Linked DNA regions of Homo sapiens: all the other regions are linked to region 1. Evidence: promoter capture Hi-C in human tissues and cell types (Jung and others, 2019). All regions are on one chromosome and are shown on one strand. Each heading gives the region's core, a stretch centred on a gene start or on the middle of the fragment in contact. The rest is flanking DNA. Distances are from core to core; before and after follow the strand shown.

What was found. Contacts are between HindIII fragments. The study calls those that stand out against the background at their distance.
Region 2: a fragment that was not itself captured here is called in contact with the fragment with the promoter of SGK3 in region 1 in 1 of the 25 tissues and cell types used here (dorsolateral prefrontal cortex).
Region 3: a contact is called between a fragment that was not itself captured here and the fragment with the promoter of SGK3 in region 1, in 2 of the 25 tissues and cell types used here (lymphoblastoid cells and spleen).
Region 4: a fragment that was not itself captured here is called in contact with the fragment with the promoter of SGK3 in region 1 in 1 of the 25 tissues and cell types used here (hippocampus).

What each region holds. Positions count from the first base shown.
Region 1 is chr8:66,710,207-66,717,051 of GRCh38, forward strand. SGK3 (serum/glucocorticoid regulated kinase family member 3) reads left to right here and starts at 2,575. Exons shown (of 17, transcript NM_001033578.3): 1 at 2,575-2,627. All of the region lies in intron 3 of C8orf44-SGK3 (C8orf44-SGK3 readthrough), which reads left to right. RefSeq lists a silencer at 2,284-2,753. The HindIII fragment of the contact is 13,282 bases long and covers 1-6,845 here.
Region 2 is chr8:66,849,833-66,856,989 of GRCh38, forward strand. It overlaps C8orf44-SGK3 (C8orf44-SGK3 readthrough), which reads left to right. Exons shown (of 19, transcript NM_001204173.2): 18 at 999-1,088. It overlaps SGK3 (serum/glucocorticoid regulated kinase family member 3), which reads left to right. Exons shown (of 17, transcript NM_001033578.3): 16 at 999-1,088. Among named protein-coding and RNA genes, the nearest start is that of MCMDC2, 17 kb to the right of the region's middle. The HindIII fragment of the contact is 5,715 bases long and covers 558-6,272 here.
Region 3 is chr8:66,936,188-66,943,065 of GRCh38, forward strand. No RefSeq gene overlaps it. Among named protein-coding and RNA genes, the nearest start is that of SNHG6, 14 kb to the left of the region's middle. RefSeq lists an enhancer at 4,509-5,010. The HindIII fragment of the contact is 8,975 bases long and covers 1-6,878 here.
Region 4 is chr8:66,904,528-66,911,019 of GRCh38, forward strand. MCMDC2 (minichromosome maintenance domain containing 2) reads left to right here. Exons shown (of 15, transcript NM_173518.5): 14 at 699-808. Among named protein-coding and RNA genes, the nearest start is that of SNORD87, 15 kb to the right of the region's middle. The HindIII fragment of the contact is 7,995 bases long and covers 1-5,999 here.

The DNA.
Region 1 (6,845 bases), core at 1,325-3,824:
TGAAGCCTGTAATCCCAGCACTTTGGGAGGCTGAAGCAGGTGGATCATTTGAGGTCAGGAGTTCAAGACCAGCCTGGCCAACATGGTGAAACCCTGTCTCTACTAAAAATACAAAAATTAGCCGGGCGTGGTGGCGCACACTTGTAATCCCAGCTACTGGGGAGGCTGAGGCAGGAGAATTGCTTGAGCCTGGGAGGCAGAGGTTGCGGTCAGCCGAGATCACGCCACTGCACTCCAGTCTGGGTGACAGAGTGAGACCCTGTCTCAAAAAAAAAAAAAAAAACCAAAACAACAACAACAACAACAACAAAGTGATCAGCCTTAAAATTTGCCCTTAAAACCAATTTTAGACTGGGCATGGTGGCTCACGCCTGTAATCCCAGCACTTTGGGAGGCCAAGGCGGGTGGCTCACCTGAGGTCAGGCGTTCAAGACCATCCTGGCCAACATGGCGAAAATCTGTCTCTACTAAAGATACAAAACATTAGCTGGGCGTGGTGGCAGGCACCTGTAATCACAGCTACTCGGGAGGCTGACGCAGGAGAATCGCTTGAAACCGGAAGTTGGAGGAGGTTGGAATGACCTGAGATTGTGCCATTGCACTCCAGCCTGGGCAACAAAAGTGAGACTCCATCTCAAAAAAAAAAAAAAAAAAAAAAACTAATTTAATTACAGTGAAAAAGTCCTTAGTAGTTTGTGAATATATTTACCTCCTCTAGCTTTTTGCAAAATCTAGCTATTAAATTGCAGCTCTCAGATTGTAAAGGCAAAATGCCTAACATGTTGTCTGTTGATCAAATGAACCCAGCCTGGGCAACACAGTGAGACCGTCTCGTCTCAAAAAAAAAAAGAAAATACATAAAATGTTTGTGGGAGGTGATCTCTGTGTGTGTGTGTGTGTGTGTGTGTGTGTGTGTGTGTGTGTGTGTTCTTCACAATAGGACAAATTTATCTAGAAATGTAATGGTTCCCAGATGTTTATTTTTTTAAAAAGTCAAGATGTGGTGATAGCCAGGTATTTGTCTCTAAAGTGAGAATGATGTTATTCCACTTGGAGTTTATTGACACAGAACTTCCTTTTGTCTGAGAAATCTTCAGCACTGTGAATATGGCTTTAATTAAGAGATACACTCATCACTTGTTGATTTTGTTACAAGGGAAGAACTCCTCTAATGTATGTGGATTGCTTTGTGGACCACAGTAAAACATATAAAGGACCACCGGCAATGTATTGTTTTGTATCTACTGCATTCTTATATTCATTTCTGAAAACTACTGTTTAGAAAGTTCTGTAGGATTACTGAAGTACAAAAAGTATTTGGATTCACAATCCACTTTTTAAAGAGAGGCCACATTGTGGTTATTGACATTAAAAATGAATGTCCTAACCCATACTTGTGGGGCTAAATCTTTGAATATCATTTTAAAACATGAGGAAATGTCTTCTGAATTTAGGGAAGTCACACATAGATCCCAGTTCCTCTAATAACCTTTGGCAGTTTATTTGTTCATAGATTTGTGGCAAATTCTCTGGAATCATATGATCTAAAGTACAAATCATTGTCTCAAAATCTAAGGCATGATATGCACATGGGAATCTTTAAGTACTTGTCTGAGTCTATCTTCAAGTGATATCTGATAAGACCTAAATTACAGTAGTGTTGTGGGACGAAGAAAACAACCCACTCTACTTCAAAATCTTAACCACTTGACTCCACATCCATTGAACCATGTAATTCTTAGTTCTCCACTCAGCTTCTCTATCTGTTAAAAGAGATAAACAGATCTAAAACGCAGCTTCTGTAATTCAAGAATGAGTAATAAGGAGCTGTAAAGTGTGCACTCAGCTGACTTGGAGATTAATGGGAATAAAAAAAAGAGTCAGTAGATCTAAAAAGATGTGTGGAAAGGAAATTTCTCTGCACACAGGATCTGCCAATTTGTGAAAGTTCTCGACTGTTTATAAACACAAGGGCCGTAACTCTGCTAATGACAAAAGTGGAAAACTGTCCAAATAATGCTAAATGAATCACAGTTGTTCTCAATTATTTGGATATTTAATTCACTCCTCTGAGTTTCCAGTTTACACCAAGCCAACCCCCCCAACACCACGGGCCCACCCGGGGGGTCCTGATCCCTGCACACACCAGGTCATCTCTGTTGGGCCCCGGCGCTCTGGCCCGCGCCGGTCTTGGGCCCCAGGGTAGCGGCCACTGCGGGCGGAGCAGAGGGAAACACCAGAGTCTGTGACTCCAGACAGGACCCACTGTGTCCTCTTGAACTTTGCACAGCGCGTGACGGGGGCAGACGGTGCACCGTGGCCCGGCCTTTCGCGGGGGTCCTCGGGGAAGAGAGAGGAGCGCGGGTTTCCTCGGAGGCCTGAGCGGGACGCAGCCTGCAGCCCCTCCCCGCACGGGCTGCCCCCGGCCCGCCGCTCGCGCCGCTCTGCTGGGATCCGGCGCCTTCCCCGGCTGTCCTCGGCCTCCCGCGCGCTCCGCGGGAGGAGCCGCCAGCGGCCGTGACGCGTCAAGGAGGAAACGCCGGCGCCCGGCGGCCCTGCCGGGAAGGAGGAAGCGCAGTGCGTTCGGCTCCGCGCCCGCCGCGCCGGGAGCAGCACCGCGGGGCCAGGTAGGTGCGGGGCCGGCGGGAGGGTCCGCGCGCCCGGGACTCCGACGGCGGCCCGGGGCGGGAGGAGACGGGGCGGGGCGAGGGCTGCCCGGGCCTCGGCCGCTGCCTGTCCTCGGAAAAAGCCGTACCTCCGCCCAGCCCCCGGCTCCCGGAGAGTTTGTGGTCTTTGTTTCCACGAGGTGAATTCAGATCCTGCCTCGAGATTCCTAAACGCCCAAGGGGCGTCGGTGGCTGGACCTTGTTAACCCCCACGCAGCCGCCGAGCCTGGAGGAACTGGGAACGCCGAGCAGGGAGACCCTATCTGAGGTCGAAAGTGGGTGCAGGTCACCTGCGAGGGTCGGGGAGGGGGCAGCCGCCAGAGTGGGGTGGATGGAATCGTTTAACCTGTTGTCAGCGGATCTGTAGTAAAAGACCTTAATACGTTGCGTCTTTTAAGTTCTCTGTAATTTGAACCCTTACGTCTCTTCAAGTGAATCTGGCCCTATTAATTCTCACAGTTTTAGCTTTGGAATGTACCCACAAGAAGTGCTTTGAGATTTTTAGATTCTGTCATTTTTAGTCATCGTTACTTGGAAAGAGAAAAGAGAAAGGAATCATCTCTTGAAACTTAAAACGCTTTCATTGAGTTGTGCACAGTGACTTCTGAACCATGAGTAGAATTTCAGTCCTGCACCAGAGACTACTTAGTGTGCACTTGGGTGCAAAATAAATACAGAGCACTGTAATTTCTAAATCTTTTGTCAAAGTGAAAAATAGACTGTTGTGTATTTTGATTCTCTCCCTTCTCACCAGATTGAGACTTCACCCAGCCAATCTGGGAGGTGCCTTTTTTTATTTACCAAACACTTACATAGCCCTTACTATGCGCTGGGCTCTTTCTAAGTTCTTTATAAATATTAAATCAAATTCTTAACTTATCATATTATAGCGGTTCTAGCAATGAAGAGGCTATCCATACTTTAGTTCCCCAAATGTCATTGGAAGAGCTGTAAACATTAGAGGAAGTTTTAGGCATGTTTTAGCACCGGGTGTGCCTTCTGGTCCCCTTGGCTACCACTTCTGTAAGACAAGCCACCACCCCAGCATTTCCCTGGGGTAAGGGAGCCTGGAGCTCCTGGGAATGCGACCTGTTCAAAGCAGATGTTGGCCAGAACCTGAATGACTTGTGTAACATGGTCTCTTTCAACTGCCGTTGTGCCCATCGGCTAACTCTGGAGACACCAGAACTTCCCCTTCTTTAACTGCCACTGCATGGAGCCTACTTTTGTTTTTGAAAAGAGCTTTGTTCCTGATCTGTTCGACACTGTTTATATGACATTATTTATATGACATAGTTTAGATATGAGGGTCAGATTGAACTTGAAATGTACTATAAAATAGAACATTTTTGTTTGCACACATCAACATAACAAATAACGTTTTGTAATTTTACTGCTATTTGCTCTTGGAAACATTGAATTGGTAGGTCAGCCTCATAGGTGTACCTTTTGTGATTTGCAGATATGCAGAGAATATTTTTTCAGAATAACATGCCCTCTTCAAATGTGCACCATTAGAGACCCAATGTGGTGACTAAGATAGACATGATTCTTGTTATTGTGACTATGAATGTAATGTCAAAATCTGCACATCAGACTAGCTTTCTGACTCCCTCACTCCCTTTCTGTGCCCCCCTCCCTTATCTCTCTCTCATATATTTAACTTTTCAGAGAGATGATTAAGTGAGCCGATAAGCCTTATTTAATAGGATTATGAAGTGTCTCTTGAAGCAAGAAGGCTCATGTTCCTCTGATATATTAATAATTTATGACACAACAGGCATTAGTGTCATTTGTGAATTCAGTTTAGTCGGATGACCCCTAGCATTTTCATGGCTTACAAAGTGCTTCCAGACATACTCCTTTACCTTTCAGAGAGATCTTGTATGGTTGATCTCTTAATTACTTTTTATTACCTGTTTTTACAGATGAAGAAACTGAGGCATGGAAATGTTAAAGTGCTTTAGCCTGGATTGCACAGCAGGTGAGAGGCAGAGCTTGAATGGAGGGCAGGTGTGTGGACAGTGCCTGGCACGTGCAGGCCTGTAATAAACATCTGTGGAATGAATGACTCCAAATGGCTTCAGATATCTTGCTCTTTCAAAACATGTCTCTCAAAATACCGTAGTAATTGATTTATGCCTGAGAGATTTCCAGGCCTAATCCAATGCCTCTCTCATTTCAGACAGTATCTAATACAGCACATTTTCTACAAAAAGGATGGGAATCCCTTTGGACTTATTTCTTAAGATTTGCCACCTCTGGTTTTTGAAAAAGAAAATAGGTTGGGTATTTTTTTCATCCTACCTTTTTTCTCTAGTTTTGAGAGTTTAGAACGGACACATGGTATTTATGTTTATGTTGACAGCTTGCTTTCTTTCTTTCTTTCTTTGTTTTTTTTTTGAGACAGAGTCTTGCTCTGTTGCCCAGGCTGGAGTGCAATGGCGCAGCCTAGGCTCACTGCAACCTCCGCCTCCCGGGTTCAAGCGATTCTCCTGCCTCAGCCTCCCGAGTAGCTGGGGCTACAGGTGCATGCCCCCATACCTGGCTAATTTTTGTGTTTTTAGTAGAGACAGGGTTTCACCATGTTGGCCAGGCTATTATCAAACCCCTGACATGATCAGCCTGCCTTGGCCTCCCAAAGTGTTGGGATTACAGGCGTGAGCCACCGTGCCTGGCCACAGCTTTCTTATCTTTCTAAACTACTTAGATTTATGATCAAGTTCAAACTCAATGATCATAGGTATTGTAAATATTTTTGAAATAAAACTATGTGTTTTATTGAAATGTTGCAATGAATTTAGCATAAAGGGTCTTTAAAAACACACACAAAATTCCTCAACTATTTATATGCTTTAAGTATAGCCCTTGGTACCTAAAGTATGTGATTTCCAGGTGGATAACCTTCAATTAGAGGGGATAATATGGCCATTACCTGGCAGGAGGAATTGAGAAGAGTTATCAGGGAGATATGAGAGATGGGATGGCCTTTCCCATGAGGTGTATTAGGCAGTAAGAAACCCTTAATGAAGCCAGACTGAGTCATCTGCCTGTCAACGTTCTTCTGTGTGGGAGTGGAATAAAATACCTTTGAAACCTGTCTTGTTTCAGAAACCACTTTACCTTTTCCAGTTCTCATGTTTTCTCTTTTTGAAAAAAATTAATGTAAATTACTGACTAAACTGCTGATTCATGAAACTCAACTTATGTAACATGTTATTCCTGACAGATGTAACAGCTCCCATATTATTTTAAGCGACTCAGTGTCTCTGTTTTCCTTTACCTTTTCCATTTCTCATGGTGGAGACTTTGCTCTCATTTCACTCTCCCCTGCCCAGTATCATGGAGAAAAGTGGTAAATCTAAGAGGTGCTACTTCCGCATCTTGTAGTTCACGTCAAAGTAGTTTTAACTCAATGCTAACTTTCAGTTGTCATTGCCGAGGAAGACAATGTGGAAATCAGATGTTGAAGGCCAATTCAAAGCGTCACCCAGTAAAATTGTATTGGCTGTCTGAAGCTGAGCTAGAGGGTTTTCAAAGGGAATTAGGGCAGTGTGCAGTATCCTTGCCTTTGGAGAAATAGTAAAGGACTTGAGAAATTGGACAAAGTCCTGAAAACCTGCCTAAGTTCACCTCCTGGTGGCCACTGTTCTTCTATTACGCTAAAGCAAAATCTGCTTTCTTTGGGCGGGGGGGTTGGGGGTGACTGAAAGAAACATGAAGATACAAGGGGAATTGTTAGAGGATGAGGGACTGATAATATGTAAGACGGAAAATGGAGATGTGTGTGAAGTAAGTGATGTTAGTGAGGTCTTGTGGCAGAGGATTCCTGTGCAGTGCAGCTGTGCTTCTCCTAACAGGGCCATACATATAGGAAAGACCTATATGAAATGAAAGTTTGAGAAGAACTAGAAACATCTCTTGGCATGATGTGATATTGGTGGGCAGAGTTACTTTGTACCATCAAGTGCAGAAGTGTTCTTGTAGGTAGCTTTCTTCAAGCCACTAAGCGAGCTTGTTGGCAGATAATTAAAATGTAGAGGCCAGGCACGGTGGCTCACACGAGTAATCCCAGCACTTTGGGAGGCCAAGGTGGGCAGATCACCTGAGTTCAGGAGTTCGAGACCAGCCTGGCCAACACGGCGAAACCCTGTCTCTACTAAAAAAAAAAAAAATACA
Region 2 (7,157 bases), core at 2,165-4,664, 140 kb after region 1:
ACTCCCAAAGTGCTGGGATTATAGGTGTAAGCCACTGCGCCTGGCCCAGGGTGGTGGTTTAAAAAACATTTCTCACCAACCTGATGCTTTAAAAAACAAACAAATAGAAAAACCAGTTGTGACATTCTCATAACTAAATCCCCTTGATGGCTTCTTATGACCCTAGAGCAAAATCCAAAATGTTTCATGTAGACCTGATATGATACAGCCAGTTTAGCTCTTGAGCTTCACCTTATGTGACAGTCCCATCCCTCCCTACACTGCAGCCATATTGGACTCTCATTTTCTTGACCATACTAACCTCTTTGCCACCTCAGAGCCTTTCTGGAACATGCTCTCCCCATTCTTTTGTCTGGCTTAATTCTTACTCATTTTTCAGACCTCTGGTGAGATACCACTTTCTCTAAGAAGTCTTTTTTAACCCACCAAATTAGGTTGGATCCTACTTTATACACTCCTGTGGCACCTTGAAGGAAAAATAGCTAGAGTCAATACTGTGCCATTGTTTGGTAATACCAACCCTGAGTGGGATATTTTTTTATTAGTAGAACTCATGACTGATTTTATTTCTACTCCACTGTATAAAGCTCTCTGCCCAACTTCTTTACCCACCTACTCCAGTAATAACACTAATTCTTTGTAACTCTGTAGTGCTTTATTCTTTTCATAGCACTTTACATCCATACTTTACACTGATCCTTAAAACATACTTCCCCTGAAGTATTAAGGGCAGAAAGGTTATCCCCATTTTACCACTGAGGAAACTGACTGTGAAGAGAATACAACTTAAGTTTAAGTAGGTCATTCTAAGTAACTTTCTTTCAGTCTTTCTATTGCTTACATGAATAACATCATTTTGCCACACAAATAACATACACATGTTCCTAAAAAGAGTTATTGAGGGGCAAAATAGTAATAGTTTGGCTTCATAAAATTATGCAGTTAGTACTTAATATATTCTTCGGCATTAGTAAAACAAATTTTTTTTAATATTCCAGCTTGAAATTCAGAATCATCCTTTTTTTGAATCACTCAGCTGGGCTGACCTTGTACAAAAGAAGATTCCACCACCATTTAATCCTAATGTGGTAAGTATATATCCAAATCTTTCTTTCTAGAATCGTGAAACTTAATAGCAGTTCATTGTAAGTTTGAAACTAGATCTCAGAATCACCTGAATTAAATGGAGTCATTACCTAAATATTTGTGAAATATGTCACTCAGGGTTGTCTAGTATAACTAATAACTTCAGGGAGACCAGTAAGATTATAGTTAGATTAGGTTGATAAAAATGTCTTCCAGCACAGTAATTGTAAAGTGTTTCTTTGGAGCATGTATAAGAAAAGAATGAACTCAACAAGTCAGCCAGGCATGGTGGCTCACACCTGTAATCCCAGCACTTTAGGAGGCTGAGGTGGGCAGATCACTCCCAGCACTTTGGGAGGCCGAGGTGGGTGGATCACTTGAGGCCAGGAGTTCAAAACCAGCCTGGCCAACATGGCGAAACCCTGTCTCTACTAAAAATACAAAAAAAAATTATCCGGGTGTGGTGATGCATGCCTTTACACTCCCAAACTACTAGGGAGGCTGAAGCATGAGAAACACTTGAACTCAGGAGGTGGAGATTGCAGTGAGTCGAAATTGCACCACTGCACTCCAGCCTGGGTGATAGAGCGAGACCCTGTCTCAAAATAAAATTAAAAAAAAAAAAACAGGTATAGACAAACATTATTAATAAAATCATATTAATGTAAATTGTTACTTTCTTGGGAAAACAATAGGATAGTATTATAAAAATGTTCATGTTAGCTAGACTTGTTAAATCTACTTGATGGAAACATTTCACCTAAAGATAATTTGTTTAAAGCAAAAAGCCATATTAAAGATGAGCTTTATACTATTAACAGTGTTAGAAAATTTTGGAAAATACAGTAAATACATAACAACAGGGAAATTGTTAATAATCATCAGTAGGCCAGTAATGATGTTAGTCACTAATGATAGCTTCCTTTGTATAGGGATATACACTTTGTATGTGTTATAATATATAATTTACTCTTAAGCTACCAGCTTACTACTATTACTGTTTTTCTTATTACACATTTTATAAATGAGGAAATAGAAGCTCAGAGATGTCTCATAGCTGGATAGTAGAGCCAGGATTCCAATATATGCGTGATTCCAGAGTCATTATTCTGTTTCCTTATGCTCTGTTGTCTTTTCTTGTTAAATTATATAAAAATGAGCAAGCACTTAGAAAATCCTTATAAAGTTACATGAAAACATGGTAATTACAATTTTTGTGACTTATAATTATAGCAGTAAAAATAAGGATAAGGACTAGAATAGAATATAAGCCAAGACTGATTTGGAGTTTTAAGATCATAGGTGAATTTATTTTCTTTTTTTAAGTTTTTTGATGTTGCTGCAAAACTTAAGGAATCCTTTTTTTTTTTTTTTTTTTTTTTGAGACAGAGTCTTGCTCTGTCGCCAGTCTGGAGTGCAGTGGCGCGATCTTGGCTCACTACAACCTCCGCCTCCCTGGTTCAGGAGATTCTCCTACCTCAGCCTCCCAAGTAGCTGGGACTACAGGCATGCGCCACCACGCCCAGCTAATTTTTGTATTTTTAGTAGAGATGGGGTTTCACCATGTTGGCCAGATGGTGTCGATCTTTTGACCTCATGATCCACCCGCCTCAGCCTCCCAGAGTGCTGGGATTACACGCATGAGCTACTGTGCCCGGCCAGGAATACTTTTTTAATAAATTAGAGCAGATAAGGAGATCAGGAAAGTATTATTTAATAGTCTATCAGGCTTTGTTCCAGGTTAATTTCTATACATAGCTCATAGCTGGTATTAATTAATAGGTGTAATATTTTACACCTACATACATAATATTTGTAGACTGACTGACTTCATGTAGTGCATCCAGGAATGACTCCATTAGGAATAATTTCGGTCCCAAATTTCTAGAGTTTGTGGTAGGAAACTAAGACTCTTAAGAATTATTTTATTTTTCTCTTTAGACTAAGTATCTTAGCAGAATTTAATTACATTCAAATAAATATATCATCAAGCATGTTGAAGAATGTTGAAGGGACTCCTAAGCAACACTGGAAATGGAAACAGTATTGACTTCAGACTCAGATAGCTCCAGCATTGGATCCCTGCTCTTCTATGATTAACTAGAAGTTAAGCTTCTCTATACTTTTTTTTCTTTCACAACATGAGCTTTGAGGTTTAATTTAGGTAACATTTGTAAAGCACCTCAGTGCATTGCACACAGTAGATATTTAATTAATAATACCTTTTTTTAATTCTTTTCCCTCTGGGAATGTTTTCATTAAATATTTATTGGTAACTTAGAAAACACAAGTAGAACATGGGCTCTGTCTTCAAGAAAATTACAGTTAAGGGGATAAAATATATAAAGAGAAGAGTTAAATAATTCTATGTTTAGTGCATATTAGGCATTCAGTGTTGTGGAATTAAAATATGTAATGTGAGGCAAAAAAGCAGATGCCTCATAATAACTTATGATTGCATCTGTGGGAAAAACAGTTGACAGAAATAGTCTTTGATGCTTACTCTTTCAGTGAATAAAATGAATTAGTTGATTTTCCAATCGGTTAGTGTTTTATATTTTAATAGGGTAGTTACTAGGGAAAGGGAGAGTGGGGTTATTGACCATGCTAAGCTTCAGTATTTCTATGATGAATGTTTCTAGCAGTTACTGAGAATTATTTCAAAATCTAACAGGTTGCATAAAGTATTTACTTCAATTATATGTGTCCAACTAGTCTACATTAAAAAAGGACTGGAAGCAGTTTATTTCTCTGTTTACAATGGGTAAAATGCATTCTGGATTCTCTTTTTTTAGCCCACAGAATTGAGGTTATACTGCTAAATATTTAATTTATCCTAATAAGAATTGGTTGCTTAATTTTATTCTCTCAGCAGCTGATAGAGAAAGGATAATAGCAGTGACCTAAAATGGGCTAATACAAACCATGAATGGGTACATTATTATATTTTAATCTTTTTTTGCTATAAAACTTATCAACAAGTAGTTTTTGATACTTTAAAAGATTTCTCATTATACCATTTCGGAACAACCAACACAAAACAAGTGCCTCCAAAATAAGCCGTATTTAGGTAGGATTTCATTGAAGCTCCATCTGAAATCCTGTAAGTTACTATGAAGCATATCCTAACATTCCATTCTATGTTGGGTACACCCAGGTTTTGATCCTTGCCTCCACTTTAATCCTCAGAAAAACTTACTTTGTTGCTGCTTTCATTTTGGCATCTCTTAGAATACAACTTGCTAAGGGTTTTGACTCCCTTTTTGAAATATTGACTATTCTGCATAGCTAATAGTTTACAGTTCTGTGGCCTCAGTCCCTACTTTAGGAATTTCTGTTTATTACATATAAAATTTTGGAAAAGTATGAAAACAAAAATTGACTGCTTGGTGGGAGAGGGCTCACCAACATTTCAAATTAGAGGTTCCCCCCAAATAATCCTTAAAGTAAAAGTATAGCATAGAAAATAATCCCTAAATTAAAAGTATGGCATAGTCCTGCCCTGAAGGGGGTAGATGTGGTATTGAGCTGTGATAGGAGTGGCTTGGCCATGCTCCAAGTGGGTCATTCAGAAGCCACATCTGAGAGGTGGGTCTGGACCTGGGGGGAGGCTGGCATCATTCTAACAATTCTGTAAGCTGAAAGAAAATATTCATTTCTGGGTCAATGAATCACTCTTATTAATGGTTGTTAAAATTAGTTAAGTGTTAAGGGATTGGGTGTGGTAGGAAGGGATTACTATGAAAATACAGGGGTCCAGAAAGGACAGATTGGAGTGAGGGTGCATATTAGTACCAGGACATATTTATGTTATACATTTCCAAGTGGAGGGGAGAAAAAAGGAATTAACTTCTAGTGCGTGCCCACTGTGTACCCAGCATTGTGTTAGGTCCTTGATATGCATTGCCTTGGTTCCCAAACCCTCTGAAGAATTAAAACCTAGGTATGGGCTGAACACAGTGGCTCATACCTGTAATCCCAGTACTTTGGGAGGCTGAGGCAGGTGGATTTTTTGAGCCCAGGAGTTCAAGACCAGCCTGGGCAACATGGCAAGACCCTGTCTCTAACAACAACAACAACAACAAAAAGTGAAAATTAGCTGGGTGTGGTGGCACGCACCTGTGGTCACACCTATTCCAGGAACCTAAAAGTAACCCTTGCAAGACCTAAGATAATGTTTTTGTGTATAATCTTTAAGTGAAGAATGCTTTTTAAAGCATGACCCAGAAGCCATAAGAGAAAAAAGTTGGTAGATTTGACTACATAAAATTTCATTTCATTTCATTTATTGATTGATTGATTGAGACAGAGTCTTGTTCTGTCGCCAAGGCTGGAGTATAGTGGTGCAATCTCGGCTCACTGAAACCTCCGCCTCCCGGGTTCAAGCTGTTCTCCTGCCTCAGCCTCCCAAGTAGCTGGGACTACAGGTGTGCACCACCATGCCCAGCTAATTTTTGTATTTTTAGTAGAGATGGGGTTTCACCATGTTGGCCAGGCTGATCTTGAACTCCTGACCTTAGGCAATCCGCCTATCTGGGCCTCCCAAAGTGCTGGGATTACAGGCATGAGCCACCGCACCCAACCGACTACATAAGATTTTAGTATATGTGCTGCCGAAGTGAGCACTGACCACATAAAATTTAGAAATATCTGCATAAAAATTACTATAAGCAAATAACAAACTGGGAAAATTTTCCTTAACACCTAAAGCATTCTTACTAGTCAATGGGAAGAAACACCAACAACCAATAGAAACATAGACAAAAGACAGAAAACATGAAGTTACAGAAAAAGAAATACAAATAGCTTTCAATTATATGAAAAGAAGTTCATACTGACGGTTGAAGAAGTGCAATATTAAACCATAACAGGTTACCATTTTTCACCTGGCAGATTAACAAAGATCAAACAGTTAGCTATTCTAGGGTTTGATGAAGTAGGTGTTCTCATACAGTGTTCTCAGTACTTTACATGTATCCTTTTACTAAATCCTGACAACAATCCTATGAGATAGTACTGTAATTTTCCATATATATGGATGAGTTAACTGAGGCACAAAGAAAGTTAAATAACTTTTCTCAAAATTAAAGTTCCAGAACTAGAATTTGAACTCTAACTCTCAGATACTCTGAAGGCAGAGCCCTCAACTGTTCTTTTTTTTTTTTTTGAGATGGAATCTTGCTCTGTCACCCAGGCTGGAGTGCAGTGGCACGATATTGGCTCACTGCAACCTCCGCCTACCGGGTTCAAGTGATTCTCCTGCCTTAGCCTCCCAAGTAGCTGAGACTACAATAGCTGGCCACCATGCTGGGCTAATTTTTTGTATTTTTAGTAGAGATGGGGTTCCATCGTGTTAACCAGGATGGTCTCGACCTCCTGACCTTGTGATCCGCCTGCCTCATCCTCCCAAAGTGCTGGGATTACAGGCATGAGCCACCGTGCCTGGCCCGCTCTCACTCTTAATAAACCACATAGTACAGGTTGAGTATCCTTTATCTGAAATGTTTGGGACCAGAAGTGTTTTGGATTTGGGATTGTTTTTTGGATTTTTGGATTTACTTACTGATTGAGCATCCCATATCTGAAAATCTGAAATTCAAAATGCTCCAGTGACTGTCATGTAGATGCTCAAAATTTTTGGCTTTTGGAGCATTTTGGATTTTGGATTTTCAGATTTGGGATGCTCAGCCTGTATTATTCCTGTCAGTACCAGCCATGAGCCATGAGGGCATTATAAAGGCAAGTCAGAGAACATTGCCATCATTTGAGTGCCTTCTACATGTTAGATTCTGGAAATTTTATTAACGCATCAGATCCTTGCAATAACCTCAGGAGGTAGGTGATAGTATTCTTACTTTATGGAAGAAGAAACAAGCTCATAGAGATAGAGTAGTTTATATAACGAATTACACAACTGTAATCCAAGCACTTTGAGAGGCCGAGACGGGCATATCACTTGAGGTCAGAAGTTCGAGACCAGCCTGGCCAACATGGTGAAACCCTGTCTCTACTAGAAATACAAAAATTAGCTGGGCATGGTGGCACATATCTGTAGTCCCAGCTACTCAGAA
Region 3 (6,878 bases), core at 2,683-5,182, 230 kb after region 1:
ATGAAATAATATATATGAAGAATCCACCCCCCTCCTCAATGCACTTTCCTTCGAAGTATCATGTTTTACTTGCCTGCTTTTTCCTCAGTCTAGAGGTTTCTTTTCCTTTCTTTTTTTTTTTTTTTTTTTTTTTGAGACAAGTCTCACTCTGTCGCTAAGGCTAGAGTGCAGTGGCACCGTGTCAGCTCACTGCAACCTCCGTCTCCTGGGTTCAAGCAATTCTCCTGCCTCAGCCTCCTGAGTAGCTGGGATTACAGGCGCCCACCACCACGCCCAGCTAGTTTTTATATTTTTAGTAGAGACGGGATTTCACCATGTTGGCCAGGCTGGTCTCGAACTCCTGACCTCAGGTGATCCACCCACCTCGGCCTCCCAAAGTGCTGAGATTACAGGCGTGAGCCACTGTGCCCAGCCTAGAAGGTTCTTTTCATCCCTCTTTGCCTTCCTTGATCTCTTACAACTGAGTTAGTTGCCCCTGGCAGACACTTTTTGTTTTGTTTTGTTTTGTTTTGTGTTTAGAGATGGGTTCTCACTTTGTTGCCCAGGCTGGATTCAAACTCCTGGGCTCAACAGTTTGAGCCTCCTGTTTCAGCCTCTCTCACATTCGGTCCATAGCATCCAGAAATAGTGTTTAACCAGTGATCTGAGCGTCCCTTGGCCCAATCAATATGACGCAAAAAATTAACCATCATGTATGTCTAGCAAGGGCAGCATGCTTCTGGAGTCAGCCACTGTAAGGCAGCTTCCTGTTTGGCAAGCAGAGTTCAGATCATGGCAGAAGTATCAGCTACCTTGGCAGCCCAGTTCCATGGAATGGATTTAGAAATTGTTACTATAAATCCAGCCCAGGTTAGTTTCATCTCATGATTCTGTAAGTCACTAATAACCTATAAGCTTCCTTCCTCTCCTCTCCTCCCCTCCCCTCTCCTCTCCCTCTTTCTCTCTCTCTTTCTTTCTCTCCCTTTCTTTTCCCTCCCTCCCTCCCTCCCTTCCTTGCTTCCTTCCTTTCTTTCTCTCTCTCCTTTTCTTTTCTTTTTTCTTTTTTTTTTTTTTTTGAGACAGGGTCTTGCTCTGTCACCCAGGCTGGTGTGGTGGCTCAATCACAGCTCGCTCAGCCTCATCACCCTGGTAAGCCCCTTTCTTTTTAAACTAGCTAAAGCAGATACTGCAGCCAAACTCAAACTGATATACCTTCCTTACACATGGAGGTGACTTTATGACCCAGTTCTGGCCGATAAAAAATAAGTGGAAGCAGCCAGGCGCAGTGGCTCACGCCTGTAATCCCAGCACTTTGGGAGGTGGAGGCAGGTGGATCACAAGGTCAGGAGATCAAGACCATCCTGGCTAACATGGTGAAACCCTGTCTCTACTAAAAATACAAAAACTTAGCCAGGTGTGGTGGTGGGCACCTGTAGTCCCAGCTACTTGAGAGGCTGAGGCAGGAGAATGGTGTGAACCCGGGAGGCAGAGCTTGCAGTGAGCTGAGATCACCCACTGCACTCCAGCCTGGGCGACAGAGCGAGACTCTGTCGCCAAAAAAAAAAAAAAAAAAAGTAAGTGGAAGCTTTGATTACACTAAGCCACCTTACCAGTCCTGGACTGCCTACTTATGGATTTCTTTTCTTTGCTTTCTTTTTTTCCTTTTTCTTTTTTTTTGAGACAGAGTCTCACTCTGTCACCCAGGCTGGAGTGCAGTGGGCCATCTCAGCTCACTGCAATCTCTGCCTCCCTGGTTCAAGCGATTCTCCTGTCTCAGCCTCCCAAGTAGCTGGGACTATAGGCGCCCACCAAGCCCGGCTAATTTTTTTTTGTATTTTTAGTAGAGATGGAGTTTCACTGTGTTGGCCAGGCTGGTCTTGAACTCCTGACCTCGTGATCTGCCCGCCTCAGCCTCCCAAAGTGCTGGGATTACAGGCGTGAGACCCCAGCACCCGGCCTGGATTTCTTTTAGAGAATAAATTTTTAATTTACTAAAGCCACTATAGTTGGGTCTTTCTTATTAGCAGCTGAATGCAATTCCTAACTAATCTAGTAAGCAATGAACAATGCCTGCCGTAGCATTAAAAAAACATTTGTGGGCCAGGCATGGTGGCTCACGCCTGTAATCCCAGCACTTTGGGAGGACGAGGCGGGTGGATCACGAGGTCAGGAGATCGAGACCATCCTGGCTAACACGGTGAAACCCCGTCTCTACTAAAAATACAAAAAATTAGCCGGGCGTGGTGGCGGGCGCCTATAGTCCCAGCTACTCGGGAGGCTGAGGCAGGAGAATGGCGTGAACCCGGGAGGCAGAGCTTGCAGTGAGCCGAGATCGAGCCACTGCACTCCAGCCTGGGCGACAGAGTGAGACTCTATCTCAAAAAATAAATAAATAAAATAAAAAAATAAAAAAATTTGTGGACCAACTGATGATTGATGAACAAAGGCACTGAAGCGTGAAATAGCTGTGTGTGTGTGTGCACATGTGTTTACTAATAACTAAAATGTAAAATAGGAAGTGGTGGAGGGCAGTGACATAGGAAGAGGGTTCATAAATCAAGTTAAGGGGTTAGACTTCATCCTTAGATCATGGGATACCACTGAAGGGATTTGAGCAAGTATGTTATATCTTCAGGTTTGCATTTTTTGATAGGTTACTTGGGTGCAGCCAATACTGAAGGCTGGGGAAACTGTCAAGGCTACAAATTATAAGGTAAAAATGATGAATACCTGCAATAATTATTCTTACATACATTTACAAATGTAAGTATATCAATAGGGATTTTTGTTTGTTTTTTGTTTTTTGAGAGGGAGTCTTGCTCCACCGCCCAGGCTGGAGTGCAGTGCCTCAATCTTGGCTTACTGCAACCTCCGCCTCCCAGGTTCAAGCGATTCTCCTGCCTCAGCCTCTTGAGTAGCTGAAATTACAGGCACATGCCACCACGCCTGGCTAATTTTTGTGTTTTTAGTAGAGACGGGGTTTCACCATCTTGGCCAGGCTTGTTTCGAATTCCTGACCTCATGATCCACCCGCCTTGTTTCCCAAAGTTCTGGGATTACAGGTGTGAGCCACTGCACTCGGCCTGGTAGGGAAATTTTTTAACATGGCATTGCTAAGTCAGAGTGTGTATACTTATAATAGTGGGAGATACTGTCAAATTACATTTAAAAGAGGTTATGCTTCCAACAGTACAAAAGTCCTCATTTCCTCACCTTCACTAATGATGAGTATTTTTTGTATCATTGACAGGTGAAATATGTTCTTCCATTGCTTTCTAAATGTGTGTTTCTTAATTATGCCTGAACTTGTGTATCTTTTCATAAATATATTGGCTGGTTTCTTTTTTTTTTTTTTCCTGAAACAGATTCTCATTCTATTGCCCAGGCTGGAGCGCAGCGGGACAATCTCGGCTCACTGCAACCTCCACCTCGTGGGTTCAAGTGATTCTCCTGCCTCAGCCTGCTGAGTAGCTGGGATTACAGAAGCCTGCCACCATGCATGGCTAATTTTTGTATTATTAGTAGCGACGGGGTTTCACCATGTTGGCCAGGCTGGTCACGAACTCCTGACCTCAAGTGATCCGCCCACCTCAGCCTCCCAAAGTGCTGGGATTACAGGCGTGAGCCACCGTGCCCGGCCCTGTTTGGTTTCTTTCTATGAACTGCTGTTTGTTACCATTTGTGGAAGTTTCTCTTTTTTATTTTTTTTTGTGGGGGTAGGGGGACAGAGTCTCGCTCTGTTGCCTAGGCTGGAGTGCAGGGGCTCGGTCTTTGCTCCCATTTGTGCAAGTTTCCACTAAGTTGTTGGTGTTTTGCTTTTTTGAAATCTGAGAACTGATTTTATGTAAAGAGATTTACTGCTTTATCATGTGTTGTGATTTTTTTCCTCTGGCTTGTGTTTTGTCTTTTGACCTTGTCTTTTGTTTTGTGAATTTATTTTTATGTAGTCAAAATTAGCCATCTTTCCCTTTAAGGCAGCTTGCGGGTTTTTGTGTCACGCTTCACCTTACATGTTTAACTCTTCATCAAATGGAGCTAATGAGCCAGGGAAGACACACCTAGCTTGCACTGAGCTGCCTACATGCACTTTCTCAGCTATTATTTCATATCAACTTTGTGAGCTAAGGGGAAGAGGGCAAAAGGCAAGGGAAATGTATTGAGAACAAACCCTATACCAAGTGCTTACCACAGTGAGAGACCTGCAGCAAAGGACAGTGTTTTCCAACCAAACTAGGGGTGCAAACTCAAGTGCTTTAAGCATCCAGGCACTAACGGAGTAGGTAGTCTAGGACAGGAACCAGGCTCTCGGAGCCATACTGTCTGGGCCTGAATCTGGCCTCTGATTAGCTGGACAACGCTGGGCAAGTTTCTCAAGACTCTTTCCTAATCCATTTGCAAAGGTCCAGGAAGGTCCTCAGTACCAACACAGTCATTTTGGTGTGTTCTAAACTATAAGGTCAAATAAGTTGGAATACTGAGCAATTAGGTGTAAACTGTTGATGCAGATAGTCCATCTCTACTGTATAATTGGGTTAAAATGTCCATACCATGACTGGAATGTGAGGAAAATAACGTAGCTTTATGTCCTGTATCCAACCTCATCTTGTTCTAGAATCCTCACTCCTGAAGAGGAAAACTGCCAAACAGATCCCTTTTGATGTTAGTCTCTGTTCATTAAATATTCAGCCAAGTAAAAGTTGAAGCTCTATCAGTGCTGTTTACACTCAATGGGCTTCCTGCCTGTCCTTCTCCATTCATCCCTAGATGGCTTCAGGGAGCAGTTGTGAATCAAAAGGACATGGAGGGAGGGACTGCAGGCTCCCATGCTGTCTGTCCTCTGGGTCTAGACTGCACTCTGACATAGTGTGTCTGTCACTACCTGGTCCCTCAGGGTCATGCTGGCATCCACTGCTGAGATCCTGCATCCTGCTTACAATGTCCCCTTTTGGGGGCCCTGTACTCTGCGGCCTCCTGTGTCCTGGCATCCTGGCCTGAGTACTCTCAGCAGCTTGTGACCTGTGGCAGCCTGCGGTGTGGGGCTGCCCTCAGGACCCTCCCTCAGCCATTGCTCATCTTGCCTGCCCAGGGTGTGGCTCTGGGCAGAATCTAGGGCTTTGTTGGGCTTTGTCTAGAGAACTGTGGCAAGGTCAGCCCTTGTCTCCAATTTTTCACTACCCCACACTTCCCTATTTTTCTCAAGATGGACACCAGTGGAGGTTGACACCTCCACTACCTCTCAGTGCCTTGGCCTCCCTTCCCTGTTAGCACCTTTAGTAAAACTCCATTTATAGACCTCCAATCTTGGCGCTTATACATAGAGGGCAGCTTTTGGAACTTAAAATTCCATTTTCTCTCTTCATAAAGTCTGAAATTTAAGTCTATTATCTTGCTTGCTAGGGACTCTCAAAGTTATTTTTGCATTTTCTTTTTTTTTGAGACAGTTTTGCTCTCATCACCCAGGCTGGAGGGCAATGGTGCTATCTCCACTCACTGCAATCTCCACCTCCTGGGTTCAAGCGATTCTCCAGCCTCAGCTTCCCAAGTAGCTGGGATTATAGGCGCCTGCCACCACGCCCAGCTAATTTTTGTATTTCTAGTAGAGATGGGGTTTCACCATGTTGGCCAAGCTGGTTTCGAACTCCTGACCTCAGGAGATCCACCCACCGCGGCCTCCCAAAGTACTGGGATTACAGGCACGAACCACTGCGCCCAGTCTATTTTTGCATTTTCAAAGGCGTACAGAGGCGTACAGTGACTTCATTCTAGGAGGAATCTGCCCTTAACCAAGAGGGCCTTAAGTCAATGAGTTAGGGAGGCTGAGGGCCACAGATCAGTTTAGTAATGAAAAATATATTATCTCCTCCCTCCTCTAAACTGCTGCATGCCCTAAGGATATTTACTAATGTGAGAGTCCCTAACTCAGCTGGGTGCGGTGGCTCACGCCTGTAATTCCAGCACTTTGGGAGGTCGAAGTATGTGGATCACTTGAGGTCAGGAGTTTGAGACCAGCCTGGCCAACATGGTGAAACCCCGTCTCTACTAATAATACAAAAATTAGCCAGGTTTGGTGGTGCGAGCCTGTAATCCCAGTACTCAGGAGGCTGAGGCAGGAGAATCACTTTAACCTGGGAGGCAGAGGTTGCAGTGAGTCCAGATTGTGCCACTGCACTTCAGCCTGGGTGACAAGAGTAAAACTGTTTCTCAAAAAAAAAAAAAAAAAAAAAAAAAAAAAAGTCCCCAACTCATCGCCTATTAAGAAGTAGAAGCTAAGTCTTTTGGTACGATCTATTTCTTCTTCAACCTCTTCTTACCTCCCCTTTCCCCCTTCCTCAAGTTTGATTAAACCTCTATCTTGAAAAATAATGGGAGGCTGAGGCAGGAGAATGGCATGAACCCGGGAGGCAGAGCTTGCAGTGAGCCGAGATCGAGCCACTGCACTCCAGCCTGGGCAACAGAGCGAGACTCCGTTCTCAAAAAAAAAAAAAAAAGAAAGAAAAATAAGCTCTTACCTCCCACCACTGAACCATACTGTCCATTCCTGCAAGAAGCTCTATTTCCTGTCAACAAAGAAAAGGAATGTGCTAATGTAAGCAAAGTGTGTATCCCTAGAGTAGCCACAAGTCTGGGTGGGCTCACATAGGTTAGGGGAAGAGGAGAGACCAGTAGTCATTGCTTATGGCAAGTTTTCTGTCTTCTGTTAAGCCATCTCCACTACCACCATCACCCTAGACATTGTCCAGTGTCCAGTCTCTGGCACTGGCTGGCTGGAGAGGAAAACAAGACCACCTGGGCCCAGTCTTCATTACACCAGGTGTGGCTGCTCTCTGGATCTCTCAGACCGAGTGTGGCTCAGCACTGGCAGCTTTAGTTGTTCTGGTCTGGTTCTAAAGTCAGGTCTC
Region 4 (6,492 bases), core at 752-3,251, 190 kb after region 1:
AAAAAATCTCATACATTAAATGATTTATACAAAGTAATACAGCTAGTAAATTCTAGAGACTCAGCCTAGGTTTTCTGATTCCCAAGTTCAGCAGTCATTCAGATACATCACTTTTGCTTGAAGGAGATCTTTCAAGTAATGGAAGCTGGTTAAAAAATTAAAAATAAAGGAACGGATTGCCTCATGAAGCCATGAATGCTAGGAGAGGTCCAAAAGAGACTGGAAAATGAATAGCCCAGGATGTTGTAGAGGAAATTTAGTTTTCTGATGAAAGTTTGAACTTTGAATTCCAAGATCTCTTCCAATGCTGAAATTGCAAACAAAAATCTTGCAAATCTATGAGGATTTTAGATAAATGAAGGACTAAAAGAAAAAGTCAAGGATTTGTCTGTAAAAGATATTTAGTTAGATTAATTTTCCCAACTGTGTATTTATCTGAACAAAACTTCGGGAGGGGAGTGTGGAATGATAAATAAAAGCCAGGATGGAAACCAAAAGGATACTGGCTTGTTCTGGAACAGTCTATTTAAGTCGGTGGGGAAAAAAAATCCTTTGAAAAGAAACTAAAAATTTTTTTAAAGTAAGAATATGCTTTAGGTGTGGCTAAGGTTCATATATATCTCGATTTGTTCCTGCCAAAATATATATTATTTTTATAATATCAACATATTTTCTTTGGCAACTATTTTCTTTTTTAGCGTTTTCCTATCTGAAGCCCATGCACGACTGAACTTAAGGAACAAAGTGCTTAAAGAAGATGTGCTGATTGCAGCCTTACTATTTGAAACATCCCTCACATTGAAATATGGTAATGAATTAAATTATTAATGATCACTACAAATAACTTTTATTTAACCTTAAATATTCTTAGTTGGTTAAATTAAAATGTTACATATATTTTTAAAATATTATTTTAAAGAATAACAAATCTCTACCAGGTAAGGCCTGTTTTAATTTGGGCATTTATTAACTGTTTCTGGGTAGTATCATCATCTGATATTAAATTCCTTATTATGCATGATTGTTTTCATATTTGAACATTTGCATTGCTTAAAGAATTCTGGGGGAAAAAGTACTTACTACAACACATAAAATGATTTTAATTTATCTTCCTTTTAAAATAACTTGCAACATTTAGGTATCAAACAATCCCCCACAGTGGAGTTAGGCAACATAGCAAAAGAAAATCTGATCATCAGCTGGGTGTGGTGGCTCACACCTGTAATCCCAGCACCTTGGGAGGCCGAGACAGATGGATCACAAGGTCAGGAGATCAAGACCAGCCTGCCTAATATGGTGAAAACCCGTCTCTACTAAAAGTACAAAAATTAGCTAGGTGTGGTGGCAGGTGCCTGTAGTCCCAGCTACTCAGGAGGCTGAGGCAAGAGAATCGTTTGAAACTGGGAGGTGGAGGTTGCAGTGAGCTGAGATTGCACCACTGCACTCCAGTCTGGGTGACAGAGTGAGACTCCATCTCAAAAAAAAAAAAAAAGAAAGAAAGAAAAGAAAATCTGATTATCTTGTATCACCACCTTTGCTGAATTACTAGTTTTAATACTATGTCTATAGCATTTAATTTTTTGAAATGAATGGCACTTATTATGCTTTTGCTAATAAACACGCAAAAGAGGTTTTTAAGGTAAGGGTAAAGGAGAGTTATTCTCCCAAAGTTCTTGGTTGAATTAGATGAGACATTAATTTTGATTAGCGATACCATTCTTCAAACCAAACCTTGGTTCCAGCCCTGGGACTTAAAGAATGTATTAACACTAGCTTTCCTGTGTGTATGTGCTGGTGATTACATTTGCTTTAAATTACATTTATATTGTAATACCTGTTTGCAGAGATCCATTCGAATATTAGAACTTTGTTCTATTATTGTCTAAAGTTCTATAAATTGTTCTATAATTGTCTTTGTTCTATAAATGTCAAGCATTCTTAATCTAGGATCCATAGATGCTTGGTATAGGGGCTTGCAAATCCCTAAATAATATACAAATGTACACATGTGTGTGCCTTATACATTTTTTTCCGAGGAACATAGAGCATTAATTTTTATGAAATAGAGATTTATGGCCCCTAAAAGAGGTTAAATATCATCCTGAATTAGTTTTATTTACCAAAAGAGAATAACGCTGGTTCCCAACCAATACTAAATAATAGTTAGGGAGGATATATATATGTTTTTCATTTCAATTTGCTTTATCTTTTTTTAATTAGCATTTCTTTTTTAAATTATTATTTATTATTATTATTATTTTTTTTTGAGATGGAGTTTCACTCTTGTTGCCCAGGCTGGAGTGCAATGGCATGATCTCGGCTCACTGCAACCTCTGCCTCCCAGGTTCAAGCAACCTCAGCCTCTTGAGTAGCTAGGATTACAGGCATGCGCCACCACGCCCAGCTAATTTTGTATTTTTAATAGAGATGGGGTTTCTCCATGTTGGTCAGGCTGGTCTGGAATTCCCGACCTCAGGTGATCTGCCTGACTTGGCCTCCCAAAGTGCTGAGATTACAGGCGTGAGCCACCGTGTCCCACCTATTTTTTTTTTCTCTTTAAGTTCTGGGTTAAGTGTGCAGAACATGCAGGTTTGTTACATAAGTATACATGTGCCATGGCGGTTTGCTGCACCTATCAACCTGTCATCTAGGTTTTAAGCCCCGCATGGTATTTGTCCTAATGCTCTCCTTCCCCTTGCCCCCGCCAACCCCCAACAGGCCTCAGTGTGTGATGTTCCCCTCCCTGTGTCCGTGTGTTCTAATTGTTCAGCTCCCACTTATGAATGAGAATATGTGGTGTTTGGTTTTATGTTCCTGTGTTAGTTGGCTGAGAATGATGGTTTCCAGCTTCATCCATGTCCCTGCAAAGGACATGCACTCATTTTTTATGGCTGCATAGTATTCCATGGTGTATATGTGCCACATTTTCTTTATCCAGTCTATCATTGATGGGCATTTGGGTTGGTTCCAAGTCTTTGCTATTGTAAATAGTGCTGCAATAAACATACGTGTGCATGTGTCTTTATAGTAGAATGATTTAAAATCCTTTGGGTATATACCCAGTAATGGGATTGCTGGGTCAAATGGTATTTCTGGTTCTAGATCCTTGAGGAATCGCCACACTGTCTTTCACAATGTTTGAACTAATTTACAGTCCCACCGACGGTGTAAAAGCGTTCCTGTTTCTCCACGGCCTCACCAGCATCTGTTGTTTCCTGGCTTTTTAATGATCACCATTCTAACTGTTGTGAGATGATATCTCATTGTGGTTTTGATTTGCATTTCTCTAATGACTAGTGATGATGAGCTTTTTTTCATATGTTTGTTGGCTGCATAAATGTCTTTTTTTTGAGAAGGGTCTGTTCATATCTTTTGTCCACTTTTTGATGGGGTTTTTTTTCTTGTAAATGTGTTTAAGTTCCTTGTAGATTCTGGATATTAGACCTTTGTCAGATGGAGAGATTGCAAAAATTTTCTCCGGTTCTGTAGGTTGCCTGTTCACTCTGATGATAGTTTCTTTTGCTGTGCAGAAGCTCTTTAGCTTAATTAGATCCCATTTGTCAATTTTGGCTTTTGTTGCAATTGCTTTTGGTGTTTTAGTCATGAAGTCTTTGCCCATGCCTGTGTCCTAAATGGTGTTGCCTAGGTTTTCTTCTAGGGTTTTTATGCTTTTAGGTTTTACATTTAAGCCTTTAATGCATCTTGAGTTAATTTTTGTATAAGGTGTAAGGAAGGGGTCCAGTTTCTGTTTTCTGTGTATGGCTAGCCAGTTTTCCCACTACCATTTGCTAAATAGGGAATCCTTTCCCCATTGCTTGTTTTTTGTCAGGTTTATTGAAGATTATCAATTTGCTTTATCTTTACATGCTTCTCCTAGTCTATGTTTAAGACCACATTTCATTAAGTCTAAGACACATTATTTTATGTGCTGTAAAGAAAAAATTCTGCCAATTTTACCATGCCATGCCATCAATTGTTAAGATACAACTGGAGTACGGTAATAAGATGAAAATATATGTCTTTGAATTGAAGAATTATAGTATTATTATATTAAGGACTCCTGTGATAGAATATGGTTGAGTTTTTTGTTTTGTTTTGTTTTTGAGACAGTCTCACTCCATCACCCAGGCTGGAGTGCAGTGGCACAATCTTGGCTCACTGCAACCTCCATCTCCTGGGTTCAAGTGATTCTCCTGCTTCAGCCTCCTGAGTAGCTGGAATTACAAGCATGCACCACCACACCCAGTTAATTTTTGTATTTTTAGTAGAGATGGGGTGTTGCCATGTTAGCCAGGCTGGTCTCAAACTGTCAAGACCTCAAGTGATCCACCTTCCTTGGCCTCCCAAAGTGCTGAGATTGCAGGTGTGAGCTACCACGCCCAGCCATATGGCTGAATATATTTACTTAGTGACTGACACAGTTAGGCTTTTTGTCCCCACCCAAATCTCATCTTGAATTGAAATCCCCATAATCCCCAAATGTCAAAGGAGAGACCAGGTGGAGGTAACTGAATCATGGGGGCAGTTTCCCCTATGCTATTCTCATGATAGTGAGTGAGTTCTCACAAATCTGATGGTTTTATAAGGGCTCTTCCCCCTTCGCTTGGCAGTTCTCCTTCCTGCTGCCTTGAAAGAAGGTGCCTTGCTTCCCCTTTACCTTCTGCCATGATTGTAAGTTTCCTGAGGCCTCCCCAGCCACGCTGAACTGTGAGTCAATTAAACCTCTTTCCTTTATAAATTACTCAGTCTCAGGCAGTTCTTTATAGCAGTATGAAAATAGATTAATACAGTAAATTGGTACTGCAGAGAGTGCGGTGCTGCTATAAAGATACCCAAAAATGTGGACTTGACTTTGTAACTTGACAACAGGCAGAGGGTGGAACAGTTTGGAGGGCTCAGAAGAAGATAGGAAGATGTGGGAGAGTTGGAACTTCCTAGAGACTTGTTGAATGTCTTTGACCAAAATGCTGATAGTGATATGGACAATGAAGTCCAGGCTGAGGTGGTCTCAGGTGGAGATGAGGAAGTTGTTTGGAACTGGAATAAAGGTGACTCTTGCTGTGCTTTACAAAGAGAAAGACTGGCGCCGTTTTGCTTCTGCCCTAGAGATCTGTGGAACTTTGAACTTGAGAGACATAATCAGAAATTGGAACTTACATTTAAAAGGGAAGCAGAACATTGAAGTTTGGAAATTTTGCAGCCTGATTATGCAGTAAAAAGGAGAAAACTCATTTTCTGGAGATAAATTCAAGCAGGGCAGAAATTTGCATAAGTAACAAGAGGCCAAATGTTAATCACCAAGACAATGGGGAAAATGTCTCCAGGGCATGTCAGAGGTCTTCACAGCAGCCCCTCCCCTCATAGTCCCAGAGGCCTAGGAGGAAAAATGGTTTTGTGGGCCAGGCCCAGGGCCTCCCTGCTTTGTGAAGTATCGGGACTTGGTGCCCTGCATCCCAGCCTTGGCTAAAAGGGGCTAACGTATAGCTCAGGCTGTTGCTTCAGAGGGTACAAGCCCCAAACCTTGGTGGCTTACACGTGGTGTTGGGCCTGCGGGTGCACAGAAGTCAAGAATTGAGGTTTAGGAACTTCTGCCTAGATTTCAGACAAAGTGTGGAAATGTGTGGATATCCCTGCAGAAGTTTGCTGCAGGGATGTAGCCCTCATGGAGAACCTCTGCTAGGGCAGTGAGGAAGGGAAATGTGGGGTTGGACCTCCCACACACATAGTCCCCACTGGGTACTCCCTAGTGTAGCTGTGAGAAGAGGGCTGCTGTCCTCCAGACCCCAGAATGGTAGATCCACCAACAGCTTGCACCATCACCTGGAAAAGCTGCAGACACTCAACACCAGCCTGTGAAAGCAGTGGGGAGAGGGGCTGTGCCCTACAAAGCCACGGGGGCAGAGCTGCCCAAAGCTGTGGGAGCCCCTCTCTTACATCAGCATTATCTGGATGTGACACATGGAGTCAAAGGAGATCATTTTGGAACTTTAAGATTTGACTGGCCAGCCACAGTGGCTCACATCTGTAATCCCAGTACTTTGGGAGGCTGAGGCGGGTGGATCACCTGAGGTCAGGAGTTGGAGACCAGCCTGGCCAACATGGTGAAACTCTGTCTCTACTAAAAATACAAAATTAGCCGGGCATGGTGGCGGGTGCCTACAATCCCAGCTACTTGGTAGGCTGAGGCTGGAGAATCGCTTGAACCCGGGAGACGGAGGTTGTAGTGAGATGAGATCATGCCATTGCACTCCAGCCTGGGCAACAAGAGCAAAACTCCATCTCAAAAAAAAAAAAAAATTACTGCCTCGCTGGATTTTGGACTTGCATGGGGCTTGCAGCCCCTTCATTTTGGCCAATTTCTTCTATTTAGAACAGGTGTATTTACCCAATGCCTGTACCCCTGTGGTATTTAGGAAGTAACTAACTTGCTTTTGATTTTACAGGCTCATAGGTGAAAAGGACTTGCCTTATCTCAGATGAGACTTTGGACTT